2 separate regions of the Homo sapiens genome follow, and region 2 is linked to region 1. Evidence: promoter capture Hi-C in 16 types of primary human blood cells and fetal thymus (Javierre and others, 2016). All regions are on one chromosome and are shown on one strand. The core of a region is centred on a gene start or on the middle of the fragment in contact, and the rest is flanking DNA. Distances in the headings are between cores, read along the strand shown. Region 1 holds the start of IKZF2 (IKAROS family zinc finger 2). Region 2 overlaps SPAG16 (sperm associated antigen 16).

What was found. The method cuts DNA at HindIII sites, captures the fragments that hold promoters and counts their contacts. A CHiCAGO score of 5 or more calls a contact.
Region 2: a fragment that was not itself captured here is called in contact with the fragment with the promoter of IKZF2 in region 1 in 1 of 17 cell types (total B cells); the score reaches 5.3 in total B cells.

The regions. Positions count from the first base shown.
Region 1 is chr2:213,147,706-213,152,861 of GRCh38, reverse strand. It overlaps IKZF2 (IKAROS family zinc finger 2), which reads left to right and starts at 1,250. Exons shown (of 9, transcript NM_001387220.1): 1 at 1,250-1,449; 2 at 2,615-2,718; 3 at 4,218-4,266; 4 at 5,050-5,154. The coding sequence starts at 4,233. RefSeq lists silencers at 660-1,019, 1,100-1,159 and an enhancer at 3,526-3,625. The HindIII fragment of the contact is 7,158 bases long and covers 1-5,156 here.
Region 2 is chr2:213,930,703-213,936,060 of GRCh38, reverse strand. The region is part of intron 12 of SPAG16 (sperm associated antigen 16); the gene reads right to left. Among named protein-coding and RNA genes, the nearest start is that of MIR4438, 180 kb to the right of the region's middle. The HindIII fragment of the contact is 179 bases long and covers 3,446-3,624 here.

The DNA.
Region 1 (5,156 bases), core at 1-2,500:
ATCTGTGATATGGTTTCTCAGGAACACCGTTTGGCAGTCCTGATAATTTCATGTGTTTTCAAATTTCAGCCATCCAGACTACACAGTTCACTATTTTCAGCTCCTTTCATTTTCCTTTTCCCTTTAATTATAGAAGTCTCTATTCCCTCTTTTCGCAAATGTGGTCAGGAAAGATACTAAATGCTACTATTTGTAGAAAGAATATGCATTTGTTTTTCTCTTGACGGTTCACTTAAGTTCTTTCCAAATAAACAAGCTGTGGTTGATAGTGATAGGTAACACTTCAAGGGTAGCAACTTTTTGTACTCATCCGTTCCTTTGACTTTGGAAGACGTGGCACATGCCCCGGGGGAGAAAAAGCAAGTCAACACTTTAGTTTTTAAACTTGCACTGTTAAAGCACTTTCAAAATAGTAATAGTTGAGCTTCATCTCAGACATGAATGTCTTTCTCAGTCTATTCCCCAGGACCCCTCTTATCCCGCTTCAGGTCCCGGTCAATGCGGTGCGCTTTCCGAAATGGGGCCGCAGAGTTGCCGGCGGAGACCAGTAGGTGGGAGGCTCCACGCACACTCCCCGACTCGGCCGGGACGCGGCTCCCGGACTCCGCGCAGGGCGCCAAGATCGCCGCCCCGCTCCCTTCCCCCGGCCTCCCCACCAATCCCAGTTTGAAAGAAAACTTCACGCGGCCGAAATGAACGTCACCTCACCGCTCCAAGCCTCCAGCCGGCAGAAAACGTGAGATTTATTATGACACGGGGAGGGGAGATGGGGGTCGCCGTGGCACACTCGGAAGCGGGTTACCTGGCCCCCGTCGGGGGCGGGGTCCGCAGTCCGGGGACCAACGGGCTGGGGGCGACGCGGCCGGGCGCGCGGGTGGGCGCGAGGGAGTGCGCGCGTCGCGGAGCCTCCGGGGCAGCACTTGTCCTGTAATCGATTGCCGAGCGCGCCGAGCGGCTTAGCGCGCAGACACGCGCACACGCGCCCGCCAGCCCGCGCGCGCGCGCACACGCGCTCTCATACACACACGCACAGGCGCTCGGGCCCCGCACACACGCACGCGCGCGCACGCACGTCCGCTCGCCCGCGCCCGGGGCTCCGCTGCCCGCCGCCAGCCGCCCGCCGCCGCCGCCGCCGCAGCCGCCGCCAGCCCGCCCTCCGCCCGCGGGCGTCTGCGCGAGCCCGGCCGGCGGGGGAGATGTGCTCGGGCTCCACCGGATCGGTTTCTCGGGGTTTGACCAGCTGTCCCGGGCTAACCCTGCTCCTCGCTGAAGATGGAGGAAGTAAAAACAGGATTACCCTTAGCTACAGATCCACTGCCTTAGTTTCCACCACCAACTGCAGTGCACAAACACACGTTAGGCACAGGAAAGAAAGAAAGACAGAGGACACATTAACAGTAAACACAAACAAAAGGGTGATGGGATTATTTTACTGCATGCACTGCTGAGGTAAATCTCCGCTTGGCTTTTGCGTGGTGAAGAACAGCTCTTGTTTTGTCTTCTGATTCATAGATTATATATAAATATGTGTATGATTTGCAAAGGGGGGAGTGTTTTCAAAGTTAAGTGTAATTATATAGCATCTCGTTTTGCACTGTGATGTGATCAAATGACTTGTTGCTGTTAACCAGTAATAATAATAATAATATAGGTATTTTTCTCTGGGAGGGATGGATTGTGGTTCTGATTAGGGTAATGATTTTTGTAAAGGACGCTCAGGGAATCGGGTTGAAGATGATGTCCTCTGCCTTAATTTATCGTCCCCTCCTTGTAATCTGTTTCTGGGATGTTAATCGATTAATCAGTTCTCATCTCTATAGCTGTCATGAATTTGGACTTGTTTTGCTTTGTTTTAACTTGAATTCCAAGAAGAAAGATTGGGTAGGCTGGAATAAATTGAAGCTGTCCAGATAGAAGGTAATATCCAGATCCTGTTGGAATTAAAAAAAAAAAAAAACCAAAAACCCTGGTATGACACATGTAAACAGGCAGCAGTTAAATCACTTTGACAGGTTCTAGTATGGGCGAAAGAGATGGAATTAAGATTTATTTATTTTTTTTCTTTTTTGCCAAGGGCCAAAAACAGTCCTGTGAAGTTGGCCTGGGTTCCTAGCTGGGTTCTGCCTGACTGTCCCTCCCCTCTACCCGCCCCCCCCCCCTTTTCTTTCAGTTTTCTTGTCTTAGCTTTTGGTCGATTCTTAAGGAACCGGTGGATCAAGTTTTTTCTCTTGTTAATCGCATTGCTATAGCACTGACTGACCTCTCTCTCTCTCTTTTTTTTCCTCTTTCCTGAAAGTACGTGGTGCCATTCCTGAGTGACTTTTCCTACTAGACCATCCCTAAGGGACGAGGGGGAGGGGTGGAAGGAGGAGGAGGAGGAGGACGAGGAGGAGGAGGAGGAGGAGGGGGGTGTTCTTCTCTCTCATTTCTTGGTTTTGTTTATCAGCCGATCTGTTTGCTGGATTTGGGCTTGGAATGACCCACCTGTAAAGTGCTTTTCCTTCCTCCTCCCCTTGAACTCTGCAGGGGGCTTGGCTTGGAGGGGGCAAGGGAGGGAAAGAGAGAAGGGGGAAACACAAAAAACTTCTTTCTTTCTCCCTCCGTTTATCTTCAGCCCGACATTGTCACCTCCTCTTTGAGGGGTTAGAAGAAGCTGAGATCTCCCGACAGAGCTGGAAATGGTGATGAATCTTTTTTAATCAAAGGACAATTTCTTTTGTATGTACATTTCGTTTCTCTTTCTCCTTTTTCTTTTTCCTTCTTTCCTTCTCTGAGGGTTAATAACCATTTCATTGATGGGGCAGCCTTCTTTCGCTTCTCCCTGACGTTTCTTTCTTTTTAATATGTGTGTGTTAAATGTGTACATTTTTAAAGAGATAAGCTCATTTGTAAAATATCCGAAGAAACTGCTCCTCTTTTAAACTTTACGGATCTCTTTCTTTAAAGCCTTATGTAATCATAATTTAAAAGAATGTGATAACAGTACAGCAGGTTGAAATTTAAGTGCTATGTAGTGACTGAGTTGGGAATTTGATCTGATTATTCCATAAAGAAAGAAATAAAAGTTTTTTTTTGGGGGGGGGGTAAGGGAGTGTGGTGGTGAAGAAGGGGAGGGGAGGGAGAAGGGAAGTGGTTTTGGAGACAAGAAGTGAAGCTGCCTGTTTTCCAGTAAGTAATGGAGAAATTCCAGGAGCCAGGGCTAAATATACTTGGCGATCAATACAGAAATGGCTCATTGTGAATAATTTAGCTGCTGGTGCAGTGAGAGTTTTGAAACTAAAGGCAAAAAGGACCAAGGCCAAAGGGGGAAAAAAAAGTAAAAATCTTCTCAGGACTTGTCAATTCTTAAACTTTTTTCCCCACAGAATACAGTTAGATTATCGATCTTTTCATTATGTGAATCAAAGCTAGGGGGTGTCATCTCATACAGTTTACTTTTGTTTCTGAGAATTATGTTCTGTTGTGTGGCGTTTGTGCATGAGAATAATTGCCCAAAGTTTTTTTTTTTTTTAAATGATTCTCTCTAGCACAACCAAAGTTTATGAAATTTTCAAAATCAGACTGTATTAAGTAGGCTTGGCATTTGTGTCCAAGCATGGTCTGGCAGGAAATTAAGGTTACATTGAACAGGTGCTTACACAGAACTTGGGGTAGGTTAAAATGTCAATACAAGTCAGGGAGTTGGCCAACTGCTGTAGAAATCTTCAAGACACCGTTGGGCACTAAGTTTTTTGTTTTGTTTTGTTTTCTTATGTTTGTTTGTCCTCCCCCTCCCTATTAGAACATGATGAACCAACTTGCAACAATTGTGAATAGAGCTATCTGTATACTGGGGAAGTCCTCAAACTGCAGTGTGATTGTGGGAAGTAGTGAATGGTAAAACACTTAAATCCCAGTTAAAGCTGACACATTTGAGCTATACCCCCTATTTTTTCTTAAACCCAATAAATTTTGATTAAGAGAGTCATTCCCTTTTTGCTCTAGCCCATCTCACAGCACACTTATCTTTCCTATCCTATCTCCAGCAGGAATCAGATCATTTGCAGAAAGAGTTCAGTGACTTGCAAATGAGCACATACAGTACACTGTGTATGTTTCTGGGCACAGGTGGCAGCAGCAACATGGACTAACTGCTTGGAGCTTCAAATAAGTTAAGAATTTAATGGCAGATACTGAAAGGAATCATTGTATTAAGGGTATAATCTTTTGTTTTGCAGCATTGCACTTTGACTATGGAAACAGAGGCTATTGATGGCTATATAACGTGTAAGTATTAGTTTTCATTGATTTGTTATTGGTAATAAAGTTGCCTTTGTATTACCTGTGTTTTAATTCCTGGATTATGAAACTTTATTGAGAATTCTGTACTCTTTTTTCTCTCTGTTCACAATTTCACCTTTGAATGAGTTTGAGAAAATGACAGCACTGAAGTGAAATAAGAAGGAAATATAGAAACATACTAAGTTAAGTAGTGTACTTAAATCAATAGTAGCTAGCAGTTCAACACTTTCCTACTTTTTATAATTTACTTTGTTGTAAGTTGAGAATAGGCCAGGTTTCATATATGTCTATTAATATGGTGTGTACTAAATATTTACTTCTCTGTAACCTAATTTTTCAGACATATTATGTGAAAGAGAATTAGCTTTCCTAACTTGACATTTCTTTAGCTACCTGTCTTTTCCATCCTCTCTCTGATAGCCAGCATTTTGGAAAATGCTCATTATAAATTCTGTGTGCTTAACAATTAAATTAGATGTTAAAAGAAAAGTTATTTCTTTCAACTGAAAGATACTTTAGAAATCAACAACTTATGTATTGAGATAATAAAGTTTTGTTAATTTTTTTTATTGTGGGTTGATTATGGCTTCTCATCATTTCATTCAACTGTATATTTCTAAATGATATTTCCTTATAGTTTCTAAGGGAAAAATGTATTACCTTACAGTTTGAAGGCTATGCATGCCATTGCGTGTATAAAGCAAAGTTAGTAATTACATCTTATGTGACAATGAATAGAAACCAAAAGATTATATTTTGTGAAAGCAGGTGACAATGAGCTTTCACCCGAAAGGGAGCACTCCAATATGGCAATTGACCTCACCTCAAGCACACCCAATGGACAGCATGCCTCACCAAGTCACATGACAAGCAGT
Region 2 (5,358 bases), core at 2,286-4,785, 780 kb before region 1:
TCCTGTTTAAAATTGCAACCCTTTCCAATGCCTGCTATCCCTTTTCACCTGTGCTCTAGTTTTCCTCTACAAAATTTGTCATCTCTAAATATTATATGTAATTATTAATTATTATCATTTTTCATTTGGCTTATTTTCTGCCTCCTGAAAGAATGCCAATGACATAAGGGCAGAAGTTTTTCACTATTATAGCTTAGTAACTAGAATAAGGCATAGAACGAAGTAAGTGCTCAATGCATATTTGTTGGATCTATAAGCAAATAAATAAACCTGTGAGGTCAACCATGTGGAAGGTACTGTTTTTATTCCATCAGCTTAACTACAATGAGCAAAACTCATTCCTATCAGTAAATGTGGTCAATGCTAACATAAAATTTAAATCCTTGGCGTTTTTCATTATTTCAGTGAAATCCTCATTATTGAAACAGTGTCCTACTAATGGAGACACTTACAACAGTTGCATGTTTTTATAATTTATAACTAGTCTTACAAGCATTACCTCCATGCAAACTAACTTGCATATGTTGCTATTGGCAAGCAGGATTTCATGGACTCCAACAGCATTGCGATAGACAATAAAGATGGGAAGAAAGAAGGGGCAAGGGAAGAAAAAAGAGGGAGTAGACTAGCCATCTATTATCAGCAGAAAATTTCCATTACTACTCCTTCAAATAATTTGAGAACACTTCAGAGCTTGTCTTGGTTGCCTTAATAATATGTCATGAGGGAAAAACATATCACCTGAAAAGTATTCATGGGTGCCTATAGTAGACTAGGCAAGCAAAAATACTGTAACAAATATACTGGAAATATAATGTCTCAAACCAAATAGAAGTGTCTTTTTTTTTTTTTTTTTTTTGAGATGGAGTCTCACTCTGTTGCCCAGGCTGGAGTGCAGTGGCGCTATCTCGGCTCACTGCAAGCTCCGCCCACTGGGTTCATGCCATCCTTCTGCCTCAGCCTCCCAAGTAGCTGGGACTACAGGCACCTGCCACCACGCCCAGGTAATTTTTTGTATTTTCAGTAGAGACAGGGTTTCACCGTGTTAGCCAGGATGGTCTCGATCTCCTGACCTCGTGATCGGCCTGCCTCAGCCTCCCAAACTGCTGGGATTACAGGCATGAGCCACCGCACCAGGCCTGGAAGTGTATTTTCTTATTGCTGGAGAGTCCAGAGAATGTTGCAGCCTAACTGAAGTTACAAAACAGGGGTGGCTTTACTTCAAGCAGCTTGACAATTGTTCTTTCAGTTTCAATAATAGGCTTCTAAGATTATTGTGGTCATTGTCACTGGTATTCCATTCCACCACAAGGGGGCAAGAATGAGGAAATAGTACCTGCTACTTTAACTAATATTCTATTGTATAGAACTTAGTGATGCAGACATACTTAACTAATTGAGGCTAATAAATATCATTTAGATATATAGCCAAGTGCCTAACTAATATGGAAGGAGGAAAAAGTGGATTCTAGTGAAAAGCTAACAGTCTCTGCCACAGTTTGGCCTTTTTCTCACCAAATATCTGTCATCCTTTCTTCCACACTTAGAATATTCACTGACTTTCTTCTCTCCACAACCAAAAAAAGAAACATCCCCAGATCTCTTCTTCAGTTACTGCATGTCTCACAGTTCATGATCTGTGGCTGACACACAATCTGCATCATTTGGTTCAGCAGTGTCACTTGCATTATGGTAACCAACAAAACAAAATACAAGTTTTCTGCTTCCCACCACCATCACCACCATGAACACAATGCACAATTGTGAAGTAAGGACAGAATAACTGCAGTATAAACTGTAATACAGAAAACGGAAACATGGGAAACATATAAGCATCACTAGTCCAAATAGTGAAAAACTAGGCAGGCATCATGAGGAACTTTGCCGTGGTACTGAAGAAAGTTCCTTGATTGGACCATGGCTGTCCCCCAGAGGAGCACCTTTCCCCATTGTTCTTTGTAGCTTCTGGCTTAGTTCCACTGTAGGTTCCTTCTTGTTCATTATCCTCTGTGGCCATATTGAGATTGGTGCTATGGTCTCTGCCTTCCTTCTGAACTGTGCAAAAATACAAGTCCACTTTTTTTGGATGCAAGTTTGGGGCTCTGAGGACTGTTTCACTGTTTGAAGAGTCAACGGGATTTAAGGATAGGCTCATAGTTTCCTTGTCAATACAATTCTCTCAAAAACTTGGTAGGTTTCTAATATAGTTGCTTCCAGGCAACGCAATGCCACAGTAACCACAAATTAAAGTAAACACAGTTCTTAAACCTTCTTTATTTTCCTCTTCCCATGTAATTACAAGAGTATTGGACACAATACACTTAGAAATAAGGGCCACAGATTTATCTCCCAACATTAGGGGTCAAGAAGCTGTTGAATTTTGCAAGTCCCTCTGTTTCCTACTATCCTTGGTACAAACCACCCAATTCTTGTCTGTGTAACACCTTGTTAAAACAGCTGGAATAGCAACATTCAGTAACATTTTGGCTGTTTCCGACCCCTTCTCCTTCGAGCTACAAGCTAAGCAGGCACATGGTCTGCCTTCCAAATATCAGAGTAACAGTGTGATATAACTGCTCAGTCAAATACCCAGCTACCTTGGAAGAAAAGCAGCCAGGAGTCAACTAGAATACCTGATCTGATATTATAAATATAAATGGTAGATGCATTGCATATTCCCTTATTGCTTTAAAATTGCTGCATTTTAAATTACTTGTAATCTCATTGAAGGCAATGGTTGAGTATGAGAATTGTCTTAGATCTATAACACAGACCAACATTGTTAAGTCATTTCATGAATACTTACTGCTTAATGTTATATACAAATGCCTCTAAATGCCTCTAAAGAAATACAAATTATTTTTTATAGCTATTTTCTGATTTTTCTACCCCATTTTCATCATTTTATTGATTTGTGTAGGATAAGACAGCATAATTATATTGTAGTTTAAATGTGGATGGGTCAGGGAGAATATTTAGAATACTTTTGCCATATTTACTTGTTGAATCACTCTTTATTCATTTATGTAAGTAAACCACCATGTGCCAAGCACTCTCTGGGTTACACTGGTGTGTGTGTGTGTGTGTGTGTGTGTGTGTGTGTGTGTGTGTTTTCAAACAACCATTAAGTGAAATACATAACAATTTATATACCTGATCATTCAGAAGATAATAAAAAAGCTACTGTTAATTATTCACAGAAACCTTGTAGAGTATGGAATTATTCAGACTGAGTGTCATAGATAATTGTTCATAGATTCTGATTAGCACTCAGTAAATATGAATCTTGATCTGAAATTTTCTATATTGTTGATGCTTCACAGTGATCCAACTTTTTGGTGAGGAACTAAATGGATGGTCTTACCAAGTATTGCCCAATTCAGAAACAGCTGCAGAGCTAGAGATAGAACACCAATCAAGGCTGTTCAAGACTGAGCCAGAAGCTTGAAGGAAAGGACGGGTGTGAAAAGAGAAGAATGTATTCTAAACTCTTCCTTCTCTGGTGACTAATACTGTCTACCAATATAAATTTGGTATTTATTAAGAACTATGCAGCATGGCCAGGCGCAGTGGTTCACGCCTGTAACCCCAGCACTTTGGGAGTTTCTCAAACACTTAGAAGCTTGAGACCAGCCTGGCCAACATGGTGAAACCCCGTCTCTACTAAAAATACAAAAATTAGCCAGGTGTGGTGGCACGTGCCTATAGTCCCAGCTACTCGGGAGGCTGAGGCAGGTTAACTGCTTGAACCCAGAAAGCAGAGGTTGCAGAGCAGTGAGCTGAGATTGTGCCACTGCACTCTAGCCTGGGTGACAGAACAAGATTCAGTCTTAAAAACAACAACAACAACAACAACAACAAATATATATATATATATATATATATATATATATATATATATATATATATATATGCAGTATCAAGCCAAGAATATATGACACAGCATACATAGCTCCAGCACCATCCATCTTACCAAGGCAAATAATCTCTTGCCTTAAGTAACTAAGCCAGTTCAAGTAATCTATGAAATTTTGAAGAAAGACACTAGTTTTAGACATATCTATATTGTATTGATCTGAGAGTAATTATAAATTAGAGCTTGGTACTTTGATTGTGACTCTGAAAGGTATATCAATAGCCACTATAGAAACAATCAATTTCTACTTTATTTGTCAATACTTATCCACCACCTCAATGCCAAAATTAGTACAATTTATTTTGTCCTTGATGATGAAAGTGAACTCTTGACAGTGATGGGAAACTTGAAGTTTAAAGAATTTTGGCATCAATCAGAAGCAATTTTGATCTGTAATATCAAGATTTACTGGGCACCAATTGGAAGTCAGTATTTAGATACCAGGGTCATAAAGAAAAGTTGTCAAGTCAAAGTGTTTGAAATCATTCCAAGTAGGGCTGAGACTACTGAGTTTTTTAACCATAGTTTGCTTTTAAACACCCTGGGTAGTTAAGAGTTCTAAAGACATATTACATTTTAGAAAAGATCACTGTTTTCTATTACGATCCTCAACCAAGTCAAAAGTGATACAAAATTCAAATTAAATACTAGTGCTAAAATTCCATTAATCTATTATAAAAATATTTATGAAATCCAGTCACACATTATAGAAATATAATAAAGAATTATAAATGATTGGATATTCCAGATAAATAGTAAGTACCCATCTGAGAATTAAAAGCTATCTGAAATTGTCACTATTTCAGATAGACATAGGTCTAAAATATGTTATTCACAGTCATGTTTTCTCCTATGGGGCAGGCTAATTTTATTTAGCTATAGCTTTATAACTCAGGTGGGTTATGCTCCTTATCCACTAATGCCCTGGATCTTTCAAGGACTTGTCAGGAAACGGAACTTGCACCTATCATTGTAACAATAATAATTTCACATGCAGGATGGTAAAAACTGAATAAAGTTGCTAACTAAGTAACTAAAAAAGGGAAAAGAACATTAAAATATCATGGAGATAACAACTTCAAGAAAGAGCTACCACCCCTAGGACTGAGCGAACACAGGGAATAAGGTAGAATATTAAAACTTAGACCCTTGAAGGGAGGACCTTCAAAACGGAACCTCAGTCCTCCGAGGAGAGGGCACTTCTCTGCTGTTATGGGTGTTCCTCTGGTGGATGGAGGTCCTTCCAGAGCTAGGACCACAGACTACTGAGAAAGTTTGATGGATGATATATAACCCCTTAGCTGAAGGAATTAGCATATTTGATAGTAGCTAAATTTACCTCTTTGTATCATATCTGCAAACCTAACAGAAGGTAATGAGCATCCAAAAATATATGGGTGATAGTAATTTCAATATTTGAAACATAATGAATTTGTCTACCT